Regions from separate parts of the Homo sapiens genome. Here region 1 is linked to region 2. Evidence: promoter capture Hi-C in 16 types of primary human blood cells and fetal thymus (Javierre and others, 2016). All regions are on one chromosome and are shown on one strand. The core of a region is centred on a gene start or on the middle of the fragment in contact, and the rest is flanking DNA. Distances in the headings are between cores, read along the strand shown. Region 1 overlaps MAST2 (microtubule associated serine/threonine kinase 2). Region 2 holds the start of TSPAN1 (tetraspanin 1).

Region 1 (4,088 bases), core at 452-2,951, 260 kb before region 2:
AATTAAAAATTTTTAAATGGAGTTTGTAGCTTAAGAAAACTTAAATGGTCAAAAATCATGGTTCTGTTTTTGTTTTTGAGAGTGTCTTACTTTATGGCCCAGGCGGGAGGGCAGTGGTGCTATCACAGCTCACTAAACCTTGACCTCCTGGGCCCAAGGGATCCTTCCACCTCAGCAGCTGGGACCACAGGCATGCACCACCAAGCCTGGCTAATTTTTTAATTTTTTTGTAGAAATAAGGTCTCTCTATGTTGCTCAGGCTGGTCTGGAACTCCTGAGCTCAAGTGATCCTCTTGCCTCAGCCTCTTAGAGTGCTGAGATTACCATACCTGGCAAATCATGCTCTTCAAATGTGGGTACACTGCTGTTGGTAATCATTTTCTCTGTTTTACTGACTTTGAGTTAGAAAAATACCCCCTGAGGAGCTAATAAGTAGTTTGTATATCACCTTTTCCTGTTTCAAACAATCCTTTTTAGACTCTAGACCCATTGTATAACCAGTTTGCAGAGTAGTAATTAGGGGCAAAAAGAAAATGAAATTTGCCGGCCAGGCGCGGTGGCTTACGCCAGTAATCCCAGCACTTTGGGAGGCCGAGGCGGGCGGATCACGAGGTCAGGAGATCGAGACCATCCTGGCTAACACGGTGAAACTCTGTCTCTACTGAAAATACAAAAAATTAGCCGGACGTGGTGGCGGGCGCCTGTAATCCCAGCTACTCGGGAGGCTGAGGCAGGAGAATGGCGTGAACCTGGGAGGCGGAACTTGCAGTGAGCCGAGATGGCGCCACTGTACTCCAGCCTGGGTGACAGAGTGAGACTCTGTCTCAAAAAAAAAAAAAAAGGAAAGAAAATGAAGTTTGGCTTTCATAGATTTTTATAATTTCAATTATATATTGAACAAAATGTCTAAACCTCATTTTATGTGATAAGACTTAAGGCTTCAAAATTTTGTACAAGCATATTATTCAGGTTAACAAGTAAGTGCTGTCTAATGTTCTAATTAGTTCTAACATATATATGAAGGAGCTTAACTTTGAAATAGTTCTTTGGAAGAGTGAAAATTCTTTTTGAAAATGAGAAATTAACTTAAAATTAACATTTTTACTTCTTTTAACTTTAAAAAAATGTTGAGTTTGTGGAAATGTGGGCATAACTGTAATTTTAAATAGTTGTGTGCCCTCCTATTTTCTATCCTGTTACTACCCCATATTGTGTACCCACCTGAGAAGTAAACTGAAGACCACTAGAGTGATAATGACTAGGAAAGTGAAGATTTCCTTTGAATATATGTAAGCAAGCACAAGTAGAATGTCACTGTATCCATATTATAAACAGTCAGAAATAACAATACGAGAAACTAACAATGTTATCATTTTGAATTAGATCAGGTACTTATGTGATACTTAAGTAATTTTTTTACCTTGGAAATTAAATAATGGTGTGTGTATAGAAAGCCATGCCAATAAGGTAGCAAATTAAATATTATGAATATTATTTTTATCATGTGTCGTTTCTACTAATGGTAGCAAATTAGAAATCTATTTATTACCTGTTTTCAATCTAATGATCTTATTTATTTAATAATCTTCGATAGGACTTAACATATCAAAATGGCTAGATTGTTTTTATGGGAAAAAATAACCTGGGAATCTAAAATTTAAGTAGAAGCAAAATACATAGTTAACTGACATTATATGATACATTCATTAGAGAAATGTTAGCTAAACAAATTGGTATTATTGTTGATATAATCAATAATTTATAAACTATTCAGAATGTTTTACTCTTAGGGACATATACATTTCTTTAGGAAGTTTTAGTCATTGAATATTAAATATTAACTGTTGCCTGCTAATTGATGTAGTAAATTTGCAGTGTTTGGTTTGCCCAGAAACCAATTCTAAATACTTCAGGCTGGGCACGGTGGCTTACATCTGTAATCCCAGCACTTTTAGGAGGCCGAGGCGGGTGGATCACTCGAGGTCAGGAGTTCGAGACCAGACTGACCAACATGATGAAACCCTGTTTGTACTAAAAATACAAAATTAGCTGGGTGTGGTGGTGCATGCCTGTAATCCCAGCTACTTGGGAGGCTGAGGCAGGAGAATCGCTTGAACCCAGGAGGCAGAGGTTGCAGTGAGCCAAGATCGTGCCATTGCACTCTAGCCTGGGCAACAAGAGCAAAACTCTGTCTCAAAAAATAAAAATAAAAATAAATAACAAATATGTTGAATAGCCAAATCTTAAATGTTGTATTTTAATTTTATGGATTAAGTTTTTGTCTCTGTTGTCATCCTGTACCAACATTGGTACTGAAGTATGATATTGGAGAATGATTTTTGACCACTTACTTTTCTTGAGCTTTTTGCCTAAACCAAGCCACTTTGAATATGTTTCTTTTTGGTTGAAAAGTTATCACTGACCTTGTTTTTTTCCTATTGTGGTACCTTGTCAGAATCTCTACCCTTTGCCGAGGAGCTGAAGTAAACCAGCACATGTTTTCACCCACATCTGCTCCAGCCCTCTTCCTCACTAAAGTCCCATTTAGTGCTGATTGTGCTTTGGCTACTTCTCCTCTTGCCATTTTCCTGAACCCACGAGCCCACAGCAGTCCTGGCACTCCTTGTTCCAGCCGCCCACTGCCGTGGAGGTAAGGAAACTTGCTGTGAATCTGGGCCTTGACAATTGCTTCTGGCCAAATGGTAAAACGCATACCTTACTCCTTAATAATGGGGAGAAATGGAGTAAGAGTCTTGGTTCTGTCACAGAGAAGAGTAAAATAAATATCACAGATTTCTGTTGTATTCAAAATGTCAGGAGAAAGGAGGGTAGGTTATCAGTACTTGGATTTTTGAGGCTATTATAAGTTGTGTGCCCATCCTGACCATTGGACAGCCTTGTGAACTATGACCTGTGACCACCCCATAGCATGGCAGAGTGCTAGAACTCTTAGGAGGTAAAAAAGTTCAAACCTCACATTTTACACGATGGGAAAATTTGAGTCCAAAACAAGTTAAATGGTTTGTTCAGGTTGAGGAAAATAGCCCTTCTCCCATTTCTTTCTGTCTTCCTTTTCTTATATTCAACATTATTTGATTACGTACTATCTGCTAGGACACTGTTTTGGGCATGGGAAACAAAGCAGTGAACATAAAGCAATAAAATCCCTGTCCTCAGGGAGCTTAGATTCTAGTGGAGAAAGAGAGACAAGTTAATGAGTAAATATGTAACATAACGGATAGACAGTGCTTCTGAGAAAAATAAAGTAGGATAAGAGAATGTAGAGGCCAGGGCTTGACATTTTATATAAGGTGGTCAGGTAGGTCCTCAGTGGTAAGTTGACATAAAAGACCTGAAGGAAGTCATAGAGCCTGAATGGAGATATCTGGAAGAAGAGTGTTCCAGGTGGAGGCAACATGAAGTGCCAGGGGCCTGATCTAGGAGCTTGCTCCATGTATTCTTTGTGCAACAGAGTCCAGTGATACTGGTACAGAATAAGTTAGGTGGTGAGTATTGGGAAATGAGGCCTGAAGTGTAGTGGGCAGCCAGATTAAACAATTTTGAGGCTTTTTGAGATAGAGTTTCGCTCTTGTCACCCAGGCTGGAGTGCAATGGCACAATCTCTCCTCACTGCAACTCTGCCTCCCAGGTTTAAGTGATTCTTCTGCCTCAGCCTCCCGAGTAGCTGGGATTACAGGCGGCTGCCCCCACACCCAGCTAATGTTTGTATTTTTGGTAGAGACAGGGTTTCACCATATTGACCAGGCTGATCTCAGACTCCTGACCTCAGGTTATCCACCCGCCTCGGCCTCCCAAAGCACTGGGATTACAGGCATGAGCCACCACTACTGGCCAGGACTTTTGTTTTTATGCTGGGTGAGATAAGTAGCCACTGGAAGGTTTAAATAAGAATGACATGATCTGACGTAGATCAAAAGATCACGCTGGGCTGGGCGCAGTGGCTTACACCTGTAATCCCAGCAGTTTGGGAGGCCGAGGTGAGCGGATTGCTTGAGTTCAAGACCACTCACAAGTTCGAGACCAGCCTGGGCAACATGGTGAAACCCCATCTCTACAAAAAATACAAA
Region 2 (4,024 bases), core at 1,369-3,868:
GTTTAAGTAATTCTCGTGCCTCAGCCTCCTGAGTAGCTGGGAGAACCTGTTTCTACAAAAAAAATGTTTTAATTATCTAGGCGTGGTGGCCTGCACCTGTAGTACCAGCTACTTGTGGGACTGAGGTGGGAGGATAGATTGTGCCCAGGAGACTGAGGCTGCAGTGAGCTAAGGTCAGGTCACTGCACTCCAGTATGAGTGACAGAGAGAGACCCTGTCCCTAAAAACTAGGCAGGGGAAAGGGCTGAGCCAGGTGGCTCATGCCTGTAATCCCTGCACTTTGGAAGACTGAGGTAGATGGATCACTTTAGGCCAGGAGTTCAAGACCAGCCTAGCCCACATGGCAAAACCCCATCTCTACTAAAAATACAAAAATTAGCCAGGCATGGTGGCACATGCCTGTAGTCCCAGCTACTAGGGAGGCTGAGGCACGAGAATCACTTGACTCTGGGAGAAGACGGTTGCAGTGAGACAAGATTGCGCCACTGCACTCTATCCTGGGCAACAGAGCCAGGCGCTGTCTCAAAAAAAAAAGAAAAGAAAAAAGAAACAAACAAACAAAGAAAAAGGAGATATGAGTATCATGGGCCACCAATTAGTTGGATGGTGTGTTAGTGCCATGTTGGGAGCACAGCCTAGGGTGTGAGAAGGAAGCACTGCTCTGTGGAATTCTGGAGATATGGTTGTTAGGATGAAGGGTGCAAGGTAAGGGCTGTATTCCCTCTGATTTCCTCAGGTTATCTCACCTATGGGAGAAGGAAGAACAGAGAGAGGCAGAGAACATCATCGCAAACGGAGCCCCTGTTACAAGTACTCAGAGACCTCCTCACGATTTAATGAAGAGCTTGTGTAATCTGTGTAATGTGCCTCTCACTGAGCTATAATTCCTCTGGGAAAGAACTCCCACTGCCTTGCTCACTGCTGTATCTCCAGAATTTAGTACCATCCCTGGCACATAGCAGGCACTGTTGACTGACACAGAGTTGCAGATTGAAAAGCAGAAGCAGAGGCACCTTAAGGGGTGGAGACCATCTAGGTCAGCTCAGCTAACCCAGGCCCTTCCAGCCTGAGAGCCTGGTGTTCTCAGCCACCAGGGAACTCTGGCAGGGTGGGAGAGAGTGGGCTGCACCCGCTCATCCGGGAGCCACCTAAACTGAGGTGGTGGGTGCCCTCTGGCTGCTGCTGCCTCTGGGAGCCTAGATGGGGAGGAGAATTAGGAACCTGAAGGGGGAGGGGCAGTGAAGAAGCCATCATCGCAGATACAGCTAAAAATAGCTGGAAGAGATGATGTCATCTGGTTCCCACAGCTTAGCACCCCCATCATACACACACTCGAGCACAAACACACACTCTCACAGACACAGATACACACAGACACAAGTGTGGGCATGAGTGCATGCACACACACATACTACACACTCATATAGGGGAGGGAGGCTTCTGGGTCCCAGGGCCGCAGGGGCAGGGAAGTCTGGTGAGTGTGTCTGCATGCGTGTATGTCTGTGTGTGCCTGGGTTTGCATGAGTGTGAAGGCATGTGTCTGCATCTGGGTGCTTGTGTGCTTGTGTCTGGGTGCATGCATGTTTCTGTCTGTGTTCATTTAGAGGCATGCGTATGTGTTGTTACATATATCGTGTGGGGATCTATGCATTTGTGTCTGCGTATATCTGCTTATAGTATGTGCTTGCATGCATGTGTGTGGTTGTTGCAGTATGTGTCTATGAGTTCACTTATATTTACATGTCTGCATGTGTTTGTGAACTGTGTCATGTATCTTTATATGTATGGCCCCTCTTGGGCCCTTGAGCATGGCCCAAGCACCTTCTAGCTTTGACTGATGTTCAGCAACCCCCATCCCATAACCTGAGGAGCCCAGCACCGTCTGGGCATGGTGTGTCAGTGAATTCTCTGCCTCAACCCCCCTCAGGGTCCCAGTCTCTGGCAAGAGTTGGGGTAGATAGACATAAGCACAATTCACTTTCCCTTCACAGGCAGCAAAGGACATTAGCCACACTTCCTGAACCCCAGGGGGCCAGGCCACCAAAGGTCTCAGGGTTCACTCCCTTCCCTAGCCCCTTGGGAAGGTAGCCTGGAAATGCAGCCAGATCTCGGACCGGTGCAACACGTATTAGCCCATGCATGATGCAACATATTCGAGACAGAGTCCTACAAAATGTTCCCAGCGACTAAGACACAACCCCACAGAAACCCGGTTACAGCCAGTGACACATGAGCACACACTCAGAAATCCAAATGGAAAATCCCCAGGCCAGAGAGCTTAGCACCCTCCCTACTTTCTGGGCTCAAACTCAGTCTTGCCCCACCCCTAAGCACCCCAGCTCAGCTGCCAGTTCTGGAAAACACTGACCTCAGAGAATGGTTGAAGGGCCGAAGGTAGTATGCCTTTCTCAGAATCTCACCCTTCTCCATGTTCTCCTCCTTTAGGCTGTTCCCCATCCCCCTCCTGACCTTCACTTTTCTTACCAGGGCTGATGTCCTCTCCGGCACACCCATACCCTCACAAACGCTCCTTGACACTCACAGTCAGTCACAGAGGCACATTAAATCACAAAGGCACATTCAGCCACATCTACTGATACTCCTATTCTCCCGGCCTCAGACACACACACCAGCAGCTACACCTACACGCTGACCATCACAGGCACACAGAGGCACATCCACCTCACATCCACCTCATACTTGTGTACTCTCAGGGTTCAGTCTTTCATCCTATCCCTCTCTGATCTGTGCCTCCCAATACCTTCCAAGATGTTTACAGAGACCCTTCTCCCTGTGCAGTTAGGAGTGTAAGGCAAGAGAGCCCCTACTTCATGGGGCAGATCAAGAGCTGAGACCAAAGATGGTCTATGTTGCTGACCTTGTCCTGTCCTCCTGCTGTCTTAAACTATGATCCCTGCTGCGGTCACTGAAGCCTTTCCCTGTAAGTATTCAGCCATAACCCTCCCCTCACGCCCTGCATAGTCAGCTGGTTAACACCTCTGTGTGGAATAAGGCAGTTTGAGCAGAATGACTGTATTTGTTGTTCACCACCCACACGGCCCCTAGGAGATGCAGGTCCAGGGCAAACCAAGCTTCTGGGCTAGCTTCTGGGCACTTCTAGAGGATCAGAAAAATCCCAGGTTGCCTGAGATGTCTGAGAACTGAGGAGAGGAAGGAGAGGGAAGAGTTTGAGGAAGGAAGCAGTTCTGGAAGTTCCCTGCCTCTTGGATTCAGCCCCTCCCCAAACCCTCTGCTTCCAGCCAATCCATCCTCCATTAAGGCTGTCAGCACTTTGGGGTGCCTGCCATCAGGAGTCCCCCATATATGTAGGGGTGCTATTTCACAGAGATCATCCTTTGGCGTGCCTAAACAGAACCAGGTAGGGAAATCTTCACTGGCTCTGGTTTTTTTTTTTTTTTCTTGAGACAGAGTCTAGCTCTGTCACCCAGGCTGGAGTGCAGTGGCGCGATCTTGGCTCACTGCAACCTCTGCCTCCCGGGTTCAAGCAATTCTCCTGCCTCAGCCTCCCAAGTAGCTGGGACTAAAGGCGTGTGCCACCACGCCCGGCTAATTTTTTTTTGTATTTTTAGTAGAGATGGGATTTCACCGTGTTAGCCAGGATGGTCTCGATCTCCTGACCTTGTGATCTGCCCGCCTTGGCCTCCCAAAGTGCCGGGATTACAGGCATGAGCCACCGCACCCAGCCTAGTGGCTCTGTTTTTTAAAACCCCACCCTGGCTCACAGGCCCCCTGGCTAACCTTGAGGTGGGAAGATCCACACTATGGTGGTGTCAGTGTGGGTGTTGTTGATACCCATGGCCCTGGTGGCAGGATTGATGGCTGCACTGCTGGCAGTTCGACCTCGGAGACCCTGTTGATATCTTCTGCGGCTACACTTGAACATCCTGGGAAATCGGGGCCTGGGCCAGCCCATACCTGGCCTGCGGTAGGGGGAACGCATGCCCTGGGGCCGAGGGCCACGGACAAGCCGAGATGGCCCCATGGGCACAGGGAGCTTCTGCAG

The links. The method cuts DNA at HindIII sites, captures the fragments that hold promoters and counts their contacts. A CHiCAGO score of 5 or more calls a contact.
Region 1: a fragment that was not itself captured here is called in contact with the fragment with the promoter of TSPAN1 in region 2 in 2 of 17 cell types (erythroblasts and M1 macrophages); the score reaches 5.4 in erythroblasts.

Annotation. Positions count from the first base shown.
Region 1 is chr1:45,914,884-45,918,971 of GRCh38, forward strand. All of the region lies in intron 4 of MAST2 (microtubule associated serine/threonine kinase 2), which reads left to right. Among named protein-coding and RNA genes, the nearest start is that of MAST2, 110 kb to the left of the region's middle. The HindIII fragment of the contact is 5,716 bases long and covers 1-4,088 here.
Region 2 is chr1:46,172,469-46,176,492 of GRCh38, forward strand. It overlaps TSPAN1 (tetraspanin 1), which reads left to right and starts at 2,619. Exons shown (of 9, transcript NM_005727.4): 1 at 2,619-2,941. It overlaps P3R3URF-PIK3R3 (P3R3URF-PIK3R3 readthrough), which reads right to left and starts at 4,020. Exons shown (of 10, transcript NM_001303427.2): 1 at 3,760-4,020. The coding sequence starts at 4,003. It overlaps P3R3URF (PIK3R3 upstream open reading frame), which reads right to left and starts at 4,020. Exons shown (of 2, transcript NM_001328655.2): 1 at 3,760-4,020; 2 at 3,018-3,161. The coding sequence starts at 4,003. The coding sequence ends at 3,118. It also overlaps a transcript of PIK3R3 not described here. The HindIII fragment of the contact is 4,826 bases long and covers 1-3,090 here.